4 separate regions of the Homo sapiens genome follow, and regions 2, 3 and 4 are each linked to region 1. The links are contacts of gene promoters, found by promoter capture Hi-C in human tissues and cell types (Jung and others, 2019). All regions are on one chromosome and are shown on one strand. The core of a region is centred on a gene start or on the middle of the fragment in contact, and the rest is flanking DNA. Distances in the headings are between cores, read along the strand shown. Region 1 holds the start of RSPO2 (R-spondin 2). Region 2 has its middle 100 kb from the start of EMC2. Region 3 has its middle 140 kb from the start of EMC2. Region 4 has its middle 73 kb from the start of EMC2.

The links. The method cuts DNA at HindIII sites, captures the fragments that hold promoters and counts their contacts. A contact is called where the count stands out against the background at its distance.
Region 2: a fragment that was not itself captured here is called in contact with the fragment with the promoter of RSPO2 in region 1 in 2 of the 25 tissues and cell types used here (mesendoderm cells and thymus).
Region 3: a contact is called between a fragment that was not itself captured here and the fragment with the promoter of RSPO2 in region 1, in 3 of the 25 tissues and cell types used here (dorsolateral prefrontal cortex, hippocampus and liver).
Region 4: a contact is called between a fragment that was not itself captured here and the fragment with the promoter of RSPO2 in region 1, in 2 of the 25 tissues and cell types used here (H1 embryonic stem cells and mesendoderm cells).

The regions. Positions count from the first base shown.
Region 1 is chr8:108,081,939-108,084,913 of GRCh38, forward strand. RSPO2 (R-spondin 2) reads right to left here and starts at 1,682. Exons shown (of 6, transcript NM_178565.5): 1 at 1,259-1,682; 2 at 607-869. The coding sequence starts at 700. RefSeq lists an enhancer at 1-821 and a silencer at 538-713. The HindIII fragment of the contact is 6,606 bases long and covers 1-2,975 here.
Region 2 is chr8:108,546,146-108,549,278 of GRCh38, forward strand. No RefSeq gene overlaps it. Among named protein-coding and RNA genes, the nearest start is that of EMC2, 100 kb to the left of the region's middle. The HindIII fragment of the contact is 4,221 bases long and covers 1-3,133 here.
Region 3 is chr8:108,584,771-108,588,157 of GRCh38, forward strand. No RefSeq gene overlaps it. Among named protein-coding and RNA genes, the nearest start is that of EMC2, 140 kb to the left of the region's middle. The HindIII fragment of the contact is 5,052 bases long and covers 1-3,387 here.
Region 4 is chr8:108,514,704-108,518,011 of GRCh38, forward strand. No RefSeq gene overlaps it. Among named protein-coding and RNA genes, the nearest start is that of EMC2, 73 kb to the left of the region's middle. The HindIII fragment of the contact is 4,412 bases long and covers 1-3,308 here.

The sequences.
Region 1 (2,975 bases), core at 432-2,931:
GCAGTTTCCAGAAAAAAGAGATCTATGTTGGCCTTTTTCTGGAAAGGGAGGTCCTCCCCCTCGACTTGGTACCCCTCCCAAGCTCCGGAATACAGACACACGCTTGGGTACACCCACACACCACACACACACTATGCTAGGTCAAGTCCGAAGAGATCTGAGGCCGGGTTTGGGGCGCACGTGGATGGGGAAGATAAAACAAATGAGCTACAGGGAAGATGGTTAGGAGGACAGAGAGAAGAACAACGACGACAAAAAAAAAATGCATGTCAGATAAGAAATACGTCCTAAAGAGACAAGTTTAGATGAGGAGGTGGGGCGGCGAACATGAGTGCGGACCGCACGACTTAGCCCTGAGCGCCCGATTGGCGCCCGGCTCGCCGAGCTCCCAGCGCGTCTCGCTCCGGCTCCCCGCGCCTCCAGGGTACAGAAAACAGAGTGTTTTGTAGAGCTCCAGGGTCCTAAAGGTGGGGACTGGGGACCCGCAAAAGCTGGGGTGGAGAGCACAGCCCTGACCATCTGAGCCCCCGGAGCCAGGGCGTGAGTGAGCGCCTCCACACGCCACCCCTGAAGCCCACCACGCACCTTTGGCAGAGAGGGACCCACCTCGCTTACTGCGTCTCCATCGGTTGCCTTGGCAGTGGCTGTAATCCATGCAGTTCAGAATGATGAGGGCAAAGGAGAAAAGGCGAAACTGCATCTGGGCGGTCGGGCGGGGGAGAGACGCCTCTCAAAGTCTAGGAACTGGAGGGTTCGCCCAAAGAGCCGGCGCCGGCCGCGCTGCTGGGGAGGACTCAGAGGGAGACTCGCCACTCACCCCCGGGCCGCACCGGTCAGTTCAGCGCGATCAGCATCTCTCCGCCACGAACCTGAGAGACAAGAAGCGAAAACAGGGTGTGTGGGGGATGGAGAGAGCCCCGGGGAGGCAGCTGCGCCTTCGCACGTCCCAATTTAAAGAAGAGAGGGAAGGAGGAAGCGAACCCACTGCCTAGCACGAGCCGCGGAGCGGCTTAATCCAGAGCGGGCAGCTGCGGACGAGTTGGAGAGGAAGGTGATTATAATCAGTGAATTAGCAACCTCTGCCGAGCCCTAAGCTCCGACCCAGCGGCATAATGCGTTGTGCCGGCGCTCCGGGGAAAGGAAAGAACTCTAAAGGCACTGAGAGCGCAGGGCTAAAAGAACGCTCTTAGGCCATTTGGAGTCCACGGCGGTGTACCCAAGCGCCGCAGCTGCGGCTGCCTTGGTGTGGGTTGCCTACCGTGCGCACGTCTCGGGCGGCGCGGCCTCCCTAGGCGCGGTGCTCCATCCCGGGCTCGGGAAGCGAGCCGCTTGGTTAGCACGTGGGCTGGGGAAAAGTTTGCCGAGACCGGCTGGGAGCGCCTGGCAGCTCTGGAATTCCAGCGGCCGCCGCGGGGTTGGCGACGCCAGGCAGGAGCGCGGAGCGGCGGGTGCAGCCACTGGGATGCTCCGTCCCCGCCCGCGAGCGCGGTCCCCAGGCAAGGGGTGCGCCCGCTCACACTCTCTGCCTCCCTAACCAATTGTGTCGCTTCCTGCGCTTTCTCCACGGTCACTTCACAGCTAAGATTTCTTTCTTTCCGAGCTGTAGAAGGCAGAACGCTCTCGGGAGGACGAAGTGATCCGAAGGGATGTGGCAAGCGCACTTTCCGATGGAGATGCAGACCGGCTGAGGCTTGGGATGCTTCTATAAGTAGGTGGTGCTGTGGTCCAAGGCATCTAAGTCTAGGCTGCCTCGGAGTTCCTGGGTCCTAAAGCCAGAAACGTCCCGGTTTCCCTGAGGTCCTAAAGAACGTTGACAGCCAACAGCGCGCCTAACTTGGAGCGAATCCTCTTCGGGCTTTCCAGAGTGCGGGGGATAGATAAAGAGTAGCTGGGGAGACGCCCCCTGACCTTGCTGGGTCCCAGAACCCGGCTGCTCACCCCCAAGGGGTCCTCTCCAGCCCTCTAGGGTCAGTTCCAACCTCAGCGCCAACCTTTCTGCAGGGAGATCTGACTGAAGGACTGATGACTCCCTTTAAACTTTTGCAATATGCCACAACTCTGCCACTTTTTAATTTACATCTTGTCTGTGTTTTGCAGGAAGGTATGTTAGCCGGCTGAAATTATTCATAAAACGCGCCCCCACTTTGAGGAGTGAAATGGGTATTCCCAACAGCTTTTGTTCATCCTCAGAACTGTTATTTACTTTGTTTCTTCTCCAATAAAACAAAAACCTGTGATCCGTTGCCTGAAGTGCTGAAGAAGTTGGGGCCTTGATTCTTTAAAAATAATTTTAAAAAGTTCACTTCCCACTAAAGTATTTTTCATTCTTAATCCTCCTCTCATTTCCAAAGTCTCCTGAATTAAACTTTTAGGTGCTTTGGGTTTGGGGAAAATATTCTGTTTAACAAAGTGTTACATTAAATAGACTTGATGCCATCCAATTTCATTCTGGTGAAATCTGTCCTGCATTCACTACTGTAGGAAAAAATGTATTTATTCCTTAAGCAAAAGATAAGAATTTATGCCACTAACCGTGGCAGTATGAATGTCTATAGATATGCCCGCAGTTACCATATTATTATGATAGCATTTTATACTATTTAAATTCCCTTTTCTATTCCTTCAGTTTCAGAAGATGTTCAGAAATTTGATGACTTAAAAGACAATCATATAAAAAGAATATTGCAATACTCATATTTATTAACTATTCCATTATTGCCTATTCATAACTATTTTACAGACTCACTATTACATAGTGGTATTTATGTGCTAAGAATTTCAGCAGTATGCCTTTGATGCATGCCTGAGAACACCCAAGTAAATCTGAGTTGAGGTCATTGGTCCCATTTCATAGATAAGAAAATCCATCACTGAGACTGGCCCACAGGGCACAAATAGAGTTCACAAAACACATTGCAGAAACAGTGGATCTGTTTCTTGACTTTTGAGCCTTTGATTTTTATCACAGAATTTGG
Region 2 (3,133 bases), core at 308-2,807, 460 kb after region 1:
TTGACTGCAACCCATCACATCAGGTGTGGAATTTTCCACTTGTGGCATCATGTTGGCACTCAAAATTTCAAATTTTGGACCATTTCAGATTTTGAGTTTTCAGATTAGGGATGCTCAAGCTGTGTTTGTTAGAATCAAGTTATTAGGTTTAGTCCACACTCAAGGAAAGGGATTTACACAAGGGCATGAATACCAGTAAGGATGGACCACATTGGGAGCCACTTGAGAAGGCTTATGACAATAATAATGTAAAGAACATGAGAAGAAAAAATAATATATTCACATATAATAATATGTTTGCATAGATATTTATCATTTCTATTGCTCTTCCTTTATTACTGATGGTTCCAAATTTCCTTCTGTTATCATTTTACTTTCTGTCAGTGAAATATCTGTTATCAATTATTTCAGAATGGATATGCTGATAATGTATTCTCTTAATTTGTCTTCTATTGGGAAAGCATTTTCTTCACCTTTTTTTTCTGAAGGCTATTTCACTGCGTACAGTAGAGCAGTCTGGGTTAACAGTTGTAGTTCTTTAAAATGTATTCAATTGCATCTGACCTCCATGTTTTCCAATTAATCTGAAGTGTTTTCTTATAAATAATATGTCATCTACTCTGATTACTTTCAGATTTTTTGTCTTAATTTTTAGCGGTTTAATTATGATAGATTTCTTTGAGTTTCTCTTGTTTAGGATTCCTGGGCTTCTTGAATCTGTACATCTACATGTTTCACCATATTTTCAAAGTTACAGCCATCATATCTTCAAAAAAATTTTAGCACTGGACTCTTTCTCTTCTTTGGTATTCTAATGGCACAAGTATTAGATCTTTTGACATATTACTATAAAATGAGGCTCTGTTATCTTTCTCCCAGTATCTTCTTCCCTTTTTTGTTGTTGAGAATTTTAATCTTTTCTTTGATTCCTAGAGTGCTCTCCTTTATTTATTATAAGGTCTTTGTAAGATAATTTCAACATCTGTGTCACTTCAGTGTTGCTGTCTATTGGTTGTCTTTTTCCATACAGATTGAGATTTACTAGTTCTTTATATGACAAATAATTTTAGATTGTAGGCTGGATATTTTGAATGTTACATTATGCAACCCTTGGTTTTGTTTAAATCCTATGGAGAATGTTGATATTTTTTGTTTTAGCAGGCAATTGGCCCAATTTTATCTAGCTCACAAGTTCTGTCCAGCCTTCTGTGAATTGCAGTTCCAATGTAAGCTTCATTCTCAAAGCCTTTGTAAGTACTTTTCTGATCTGTCCAATGTACACACCACCCAATGGCCATTCTAGAACCTATCTCATAGTTCAGTTCTCATAGTGTTTGTTAAGCTGTTTAGGATCCAATCGATGCATATACAACTTGAGAAAAAGCCTAGGAGTTCATAAATAATTTTATGGGGTTACTTTCCCAAGATCCTTCCTGTTCCTAGCACTTTCTAGTTTCCTGATGTTCCCAAAGTTGATCTTCTGGCTAGGATGATGGAGCTTTATTTAACCTGCTTTGCTTCCCACTTGTCATAAATGCACCTACAATGGGACCCCTTGTTGAGAGGAGAGATAGAGAAAAGGGCAATGGGGTTTCATCCCACCCTAACTGAATCTGAGTTTCCTTACTCACTGTGCATTAAAACACATTTTCTTGTTAACATTATATTATTTTTAAACTTCTTTGAAATGAGTTTGGAAGGGAAAGTCATTTTGCTGAAAGCTTGCACCTTTCTCATTTGAATCAAAGGACCGTACTCTGTCTGTTACCAAGCATCGGAAACACATGGTGGGGCCAGCTGCCTCAGGTAAGTACCGTGTACTAAGGGAATTCTTTGCAGAAGGAGAGATCTGAAATCAACTGCCAGATGAGGAATCAGACAACAGGGGGAAAAAAAAGAGAGAGAGAAGAGTACAAGAAAGAAATGGTTAGGGCATCTGATAGATATTGGTCTTGGTGTGATGACCTGATGTTGAAGTTAAAACACCACCACCAGCCCTAAAGTTAGGTTCATGTAATTTTTAGTTGTGTTCAGTCTTTATGGGACAAATTCCAAATCCTACAATGGCTTCACTTTGACAGGCCTTTTGTCTATTCAAACCATATTTCTTTCTACTACAGGTTAATATTATTGAAAGATCATATTTTGATGTTTCTGGTTTCTGGAAAGTTTGTGAGATCAAAGTAAATGAAAACCAGGACTTTTAGCTATGTTCTTACCACCTTTTCAAGGTAAGGGCACAAAGGAATTCTATTCATAGACAAATAAATACTTTAAAGATTTAGTTTTATGTGAATAAAATCTTTAATAAGTATTGTCCATTTTAGACTCTGAACTGGGCACTTAAAACCATGTGATTGGTTATTAGAATAAAAATAAAATGATTTTTAAAAATAAATAAAACCTCCTAAGTGGGGCAGAAAAATGATGTCATTGAAATCTGAAAACTGTCTTTAACAGTTTATGTTTATACAGTGATATCCTGCTGATGTCTGATGTAAAAGAAAAAGAAAAAAAACTTCTTAGAGAAAATTAGTTACTTGAACTAAGGCTGCTGAATGCATTTAAATCCTGCAATTTTGGCAGAATATCACATCATCTAAATGGGGGGAGATAAACTCGAGGTGTAAAGGATATGAAATGCAGTTTGCATTCTTGACTTCCCAGACAGTAGATTGCAGAAGGTGATAAGTTAAAGCTTCTGAGGAAAAAGGTAAACTAATTCTGGAGCTGCCAGTGATATATCCTGGCTGGACTAAAATCAAAGTATTTTCATTAGCCTAGGCAGCCTAAAAGACATAGTGTTATTTTATTTTTTAAAATATAATTTCCACCTTGTAAATACATCATGATATTTCTTATTGGAGAACTTGCAGTTGGGTATAATTTTAAAATGGCTCATGTTTTTAGCAATGAGGAAAAAATAACCTTGAGCATAAATAACATGAATATTAATAATGTTTAACTAAAGAATGAAGAATTACATCTTAAAATAATTCCTGTACTCTCTTCATAATCATGCATTATGTATGAGAGGCAAAGTGCTGAGCATCTCTGAGGATAAAAAGTGATTTGTTATGTGAAAAATACCAAAGTTCTTTAGCCAATCTAGGTACAAGTAGACTGTTAGGGA
Region 3 (3,387 bases), core at 153-2,652, 500 kb after region 1:
GTTATCGACAAATGGACTATGTCAACACAAGCTTTTATTGTGTTTTGAGGTACTTTTGGAGCCTCTGGCAGCTGCTCTCATTTTGCAGAGCAAAACTGCTGCTGAAGGTTTGGTAAAGGTTAATTTTTAAATGGATTCTATGCTGCTATATGTGGCATCTCCCTTGGTATTTGAATCATTCAGCACATAACCCCATCGTTAGATCATTTTTTTGTGAAATTTTTGTTGGTCACCTTTAAAGCTACATCAATCACTTGGTAATGGAAAAAAAGTCAATGTAATGATCTGCTTTGAAAATAAACAGTCTAACTTGACTTTGGCATTGAGAGCCTATTATCATGTGGTAACATCATTCTATTCCAATGACATTAACTGCTAAGGATGTTATCGTGGTGGAAAATATTTCAATTTTGTTATCGGAACAATGAAGCTGTGATATTTAATTATGAAGAAGTATGTTTAATTTGGGGAATCTGGCACGTTGACTGCCACAGTTTACTTGTCAGAAGCCTGGGCAATGGTAATGAAATTTGGACACAATATTATTTAGTGACCCACCAAAGTTATTGATTCAACAGGTTTTCTTGCTTTCTCATGTTTTCTTTGTAATATTATTTCTTCCATTAAGTCCGTTGATTAACAAATTAACTAATTAATGAACCCAATTAATACATTGCAGTACTAGCTAGTAGAGAAGGGCTAGGGTATGAAGAATAGCATCTCTGGCTAGTTTTTACTTTTGGAAGGTGAGATCTGTTTAAATGACACAGCAAGAAAAGCACTTCCAAATTGAAATGTTAACAACATAAGGGGAGTTTTTTCTCCCTTCCCCCACACATTTTGTGTTGAGAAAATTGAAAATAAAACAAAGCAAATAGACATATGGATTATACTGATAAACATATTAATGTGATGAATTAAAGCTGATCATAAAGTGGTAGAGTCAGTGCCACTGAAATAAGATTTGAAATGCAATACAGAGTATGGCCTGTTCTACAGTAACTCTTCTGCTGAAAATCAGCTGTAGCATCCTCCCTTCTTAAATGACCTTCAGTTACAGCTGCTGGCTAGCCAAGAAATAGCTGGGCCCCCTTTCCTGAGTACCTATTATGTGTCAGACATTATACTTGGTCTTAGGGCATAAATGGACAGTACAGACATTGTCCCCAAAGTGCTCTCTATCTCATGGGAGACAGGCAGAATAAATGATGAGGCTTTTTGTTTACAATGTACAATAATGTAATACATTAGTAAGAACCAGTTAATCAGGAACTCAGAGAATCCTGCAATACCTGAGCCAGAAGAAACTCAGAAAGCATAGAGTCCACTCTTGTTTGACAGTGAAGCTTCTGAACATCTGAGAATTGCAGTGGCTTGCCCAAGGTCATGGAGCAAGTTGGTGGCAGAACTAGGACCAGCACCCAGTCTGCAGGACAGTGTTCTTTCTGCTGCTTTACACTCCTTTCAGAGCTCTAGTCCCAGCCTGGTGTCAAGGGGATTGGAATTCTGCTGCAGAAGGAGTTGCAGAGGGAGACTTTGCTTCACAATTTCCCTTGGTTGCAAGCTGTGATGTGAAAACTTTATGTTTCCTTTTTGTTTATCTGGGGGCGAAGGATAGATTCCAGGAGAACCTGGCTAATGGCAGGCTGTTTCTGCAGCTGGGCCAGAGATGCTCAGTGCCCTGGTTTTGGCTGCTGAAACATTCTGAGTCATTCACTTGGAGTGTCCCCAGATTCACAAAAGTGCCACAGGGACCACAAAGCAGAAGCTTTGTATATGTGGAAGGCTGGGAAGAATGGAGGGGATTGTACTGAGGGCTACCACCAAATTCACATGGGAGGTGTGTTCTCACACATGGTATAAGAACACAAAAATGCCCTTTTTTTCCAGACAGGGGGCCACAATCAGAAGGTTGGTGACATCAAACTGTGAAGAAAAGTAGCCCTGCCTGCTTGTGAACGAGCATAGGTAATTGACAGAAATATGCTCTTTCTGGCTTGTTTTTGTTTGTTGTAAACTATTTGCTATTTCTAAAAACTGTATGTATTTATGGTATAAAACATGATTTTTTTTTGAAAACTGGGGATTTGTACATTGATCATGAACCCCACAAGGTAGATGCTCTCACCACCCCCTTTTTGTACAGAAAGAAAGTGAAGCACAGAAAGGTAAAGTTGCCCAAGGTCAGGTAACTAGTGGGCATCCAAGCTGCCATTCAAACTCGGCAGCCTGCTTCCACAGTCCGTGCTCTTCCTCATGTGGCCTCTGGCATTTGTCTCTGGAGTAATTTCACACTTTCTCCTTTCCAAGGGATCTTGAAACAACATGATGTTTTGATGTACATATACATTGTGGAATGGCTAAATAAAGCTAATTAACATAGGCATTATCCACGAACATCACCTTTTTTGCTGGTGAAAACATTTAAAAGTTACTCAAATCTGTTCTCTTAGCAGTGGCCTTTCTGACTTGTACTTCTTCGCTTCAGCTCAGTGCTTTTTGTCAGTTCTCTTAGTATATACAAGCCAAAATCTTCTTAGTCCGTAGACTCTCTAGAATGTCTATCAGAGAGAAGTCATTAAATAACTGGTTTTAAATAACCCAAAACTTTGTAGGTTAATTCAAAAGTGAGTGCTGTGTAAACTTGGCATTGTTATATTTTACAGAGAAGCCTTATTTTGTTCTGCCAAACTTTATTAAAAAACAAAAACAATATACCAATGGACAGAATTTTCTCTGCCACTTGAGGAGCCCCTATCCCAAACCGAAACTACTGAAGCTGATCACACAGGCATACACATCACTGGTAACTCTATAAGAAATAAAAGGAAAAATGAATATGTCTGGTTACCACAAGCCCATGTAATAATGCATGGCTGTGTGACACAGAAAACGGTATATAGGTCAAAAATGCCTTGGAAAAATACAAATTTTTAAAATATGGAATATGTAGACCTTAATCCACTTGGTCACATTTTTATATTAACACATGAATGTATTATATTTGCAGTTAAGTAGGAGGCAGCATGTTGGAGAGGGAAAGTGAGCATGTGAGTCACACTATGAAGGTTAGGATCCTTATTCAGACCCTGGGAAGGTTACTTAATCTTTTTGAATCTCAGTTTTTCTTTGGAAAAATGAGAAATTTATTTATGTAAAAGTCTTGGCACAGCATTCACCGCATTATGGGCATTCAGTAAATGTTAGTCCAAGTTTCCTTCCTAATTCCTGTTTTTTTTTTTTTTTTTTAAACAATAGCACTCTTACAATTGAGTCTCTTGGTGGGCATATCTGTTTTATTATACAATCCTAATAGAGAAAAGCTCTCAGAAGACCAACCTGGAAGGAATGCCCCAAGAGAGGCTGCAGGTTCTGTCTGAGATGTAA
Region 4 (3,308 bases), core at 758-3,257, 430 kb after region 1:
AATCAACACCCAAGGATGTCATAAGTAAGAAAGCAATAGACCCCAAAACCATAAACATTGGGATTCTCAGGCAGAATATACAACCATATTTAATGTGATTAAAGAAATAAAAGAGAACCTTGAAAACACAGGTAATGTGGATTTTAAAAATAACTACTAGAAATAGAACTTTTAGAAACTATTAATAATTAAAATTCAAAACTCTGTGGGAAGATTAACCAGAAGACTATATGTGGCAGAAGACAGAACTGGTGAAGTAATTTCTGAAGAAAATGTAAAACACAGTCCAGAGAAACAAATGAAGACTATGATACAGAAGTTAATAGTTGTGGAGAACGGAGGGAGAAGGTCTAAAATACTTTTAGTTAGAGTTCTAAAAGGAAACTATAGAACCAATGGGGAAGAGAGAGTAGAATTCAAAAAGAACCCCCTAAGTTGTTGAAAAACATTAGTCCTCAGATCAAGAAAGCTAAACAATAGCCGGGTGTGGTGACATGCACCTGTAGTTCTAGCTATTTGGGAAGCTGAGGCAGGAGGATTCCTGGAGCTTGGGAGTTCAAGGTTTCAGTGAGCTATGATTGTGCCACTGCACTCCAGCCTAGGTGACAGAACAAGACCCTGTCTCCAAAAAAAAAAAAAAAAGAAAAACGAAAGTCAAATAAATTCTAAGATTAAGATTAAGAACTTCCCTTCATCAAAAATCACCATAAAGTGAAAAGATAAACCACTGGGAGATGATACTTGCAATATATATAACAAACAAGTGATTAGTGTCTCTCTAGAATATATATATGTATATAATGTGTATAATGTATATAATATATACATAAAATATATAATTATGCATAAATGTAATACATATAACTTGCAATATATATAACCAAGGTATTAGTGTCTCTCTCCAATGAATACATACATATTTTATATATATAATGTATATATGCACAAAAATATATAATTATACATAAAAATGTTATATAATCATATGTAACATTTTTCTTATGAATTAAAATAGAGAAATGGACAAATTCAACTTATTTCAAACTGAACTTACTATCTTCTTCCAGAGAGCAGCTCCACCTACTAACTCAGGTGAAAAAACCTCCAAATTATCTTAAACATCCTTCTAAATTATCTTAAACATCTTCCTTTGCATGCCTGTAGCCAATTAATCTCCAACTTTTGGTGATTCTATATCTGAATTGTTTCCTAAATTGTCCCCTTTTCTTCTAGTTCCACTGACACTAACTTGGTTCAAATCTTCGGATACATATTCCCTTTAGCCTAGGGAAATACAATTCTAATTGATTTCCCTCTTCTTCCTTCATTATTCATTCTTTTTGCAGTGCCAACAGAAAGTTGTTTTTTGTTTTTTTAACACAGAACAAGCTTGTCATTCTTCTATTCAAAAATTCACCATGGTCTATAAATTTTGACTCTTCATTTTTCAGTTTTATCAAATTATGCATACATATAGCTTAAAGAGTCATGGCCACTACTATTACTACTGCTATAACCATTTGGGTTCTCATAATGAATTTCCTTGGGGGTTTCCAGTGTCTTCTGATCAAACGAAAGAGATAGATAAAGATTTTCATAGTCCATTTTAAAATTTTTCATGAGAATTTCCTTGTCTGTTTATCTTGGTCTGCTATTTGAAGGGCTTAGGATGCCTTTCCTTGTCTTCTCTATTCTGCCTCAGGGACAACTTAAGTCCTATGTAATTAGTTTTGATAATACTTTATATCAAAGCATATAACTATATGACTTAATTTATTACATACTTGGCTTTATTTAACTATTTCATATTTATTATTATTATCTCTTCAGCGACTTCCCAGGCCTATAAAATGCCATCTGAAGTAACTGCTTTCAAAATTTTCTTTCTGAATATTTTTATAATGTCCAGCACCATGGGTTAATCCAGTAACATGAATTATAGATACTTAAATAACATATTAATTGGTCTAAATTTTAGGTGAATACATAAAGGAAGGAAGAAACTCAATCTTCCAGTAATATATACAGTTTTTGGAAATATAAATGCTGCATGGCTGATCATGCTATTTTTCTACTCATCCTTTCTTCCCTCCTCAAGACATTTTCTCCAAGAAGTCTTTTTCAAAACTTCGCTTTATGGTGGTTTTGGAAAAAATAAAATAAAGCAGGTTGACTCAGGGGTGGCAGAAAAGAAACCTTTAGCCAGCCAAAAAAAAAAAAAAGTCTCCCTTACTCCCTCAGCAGAGTTGGATTCCCAAATAGTCACAAATCAACAACAGTTAATGAGGCTGTTCTTACCACTAATAGTGCTTTACATTGCAGGGATTTCTGGTGGATCATTTGGCATTTTCATTTCCTTGACATATGCAGAAGGCATTTAAAGTTGTCAGATTAAAGATATTTCTATTACTTTAGACTTCTTGGAAATCTCAAGTGAAAAAGTACCATCATGGCACATGGAGGAAAACTAAATCTCTCCCTTTCCTAGTTTAGCTAATTTTTGTTGTTGTTATTGTTTCAACTTCAGATATAGTTGGGAAAATATGTGTTTATTTTAAAATTAGCAATATGTGTTTATTTTAAAATTTGAAACAATTACTTTAAATATGGATTATTTAAAAGTTTTGCTAATTAAAATAAGGTATCAACACAGTGAATTTTCAGTATTTAAAAAATTAAGGTATTAACTGTACCCACATTCAAGATAAAAAAGGAAGAGATTCTGCTAAAATGTAGAATTTCGACTGATGGATAAAAACATCAGAAAACACTCTGGAATAAAATTCTGTTCATAGGCTGTGGTTACAAGTGCCTATTTTTAAACAACTTTATTGAGATATAACTGATACACAAAAAACTGCACATATTTCATATACACAATTTAATGAGTTTGGACAAACGCATATACCCTTGAAATCATCACTACAGTCAAAGTAGTTATCACATCCATCACCTCCAAAAGTTTCCCTATGCTCTTTTTTGTTTGTTTTTGTAGTAAGCACACTTAACCTGTGATCTACCCTCCTAACAAAATTTTTACGTGCACAACACAGTATTGTTAGTTGTAGGCACTGTGTTGTAGAGCACATCTCTATAACTTATTCATCTTGCATAACTGAAACTTTATACTCATTGACAACTCCCAATTTCCTCCTAACCCCATCCCCTGTCAACTACCATTCTACTCTCTTTCTTTGAGATTATTTTAGAAACCTTATATAAGTGGAATCATGTAGTATTTGTCCTTCCGTGACTGACTTCTTTCACTTATCATAGTGTCCTCAAAGTCATCTAAATTTGTTGCATTT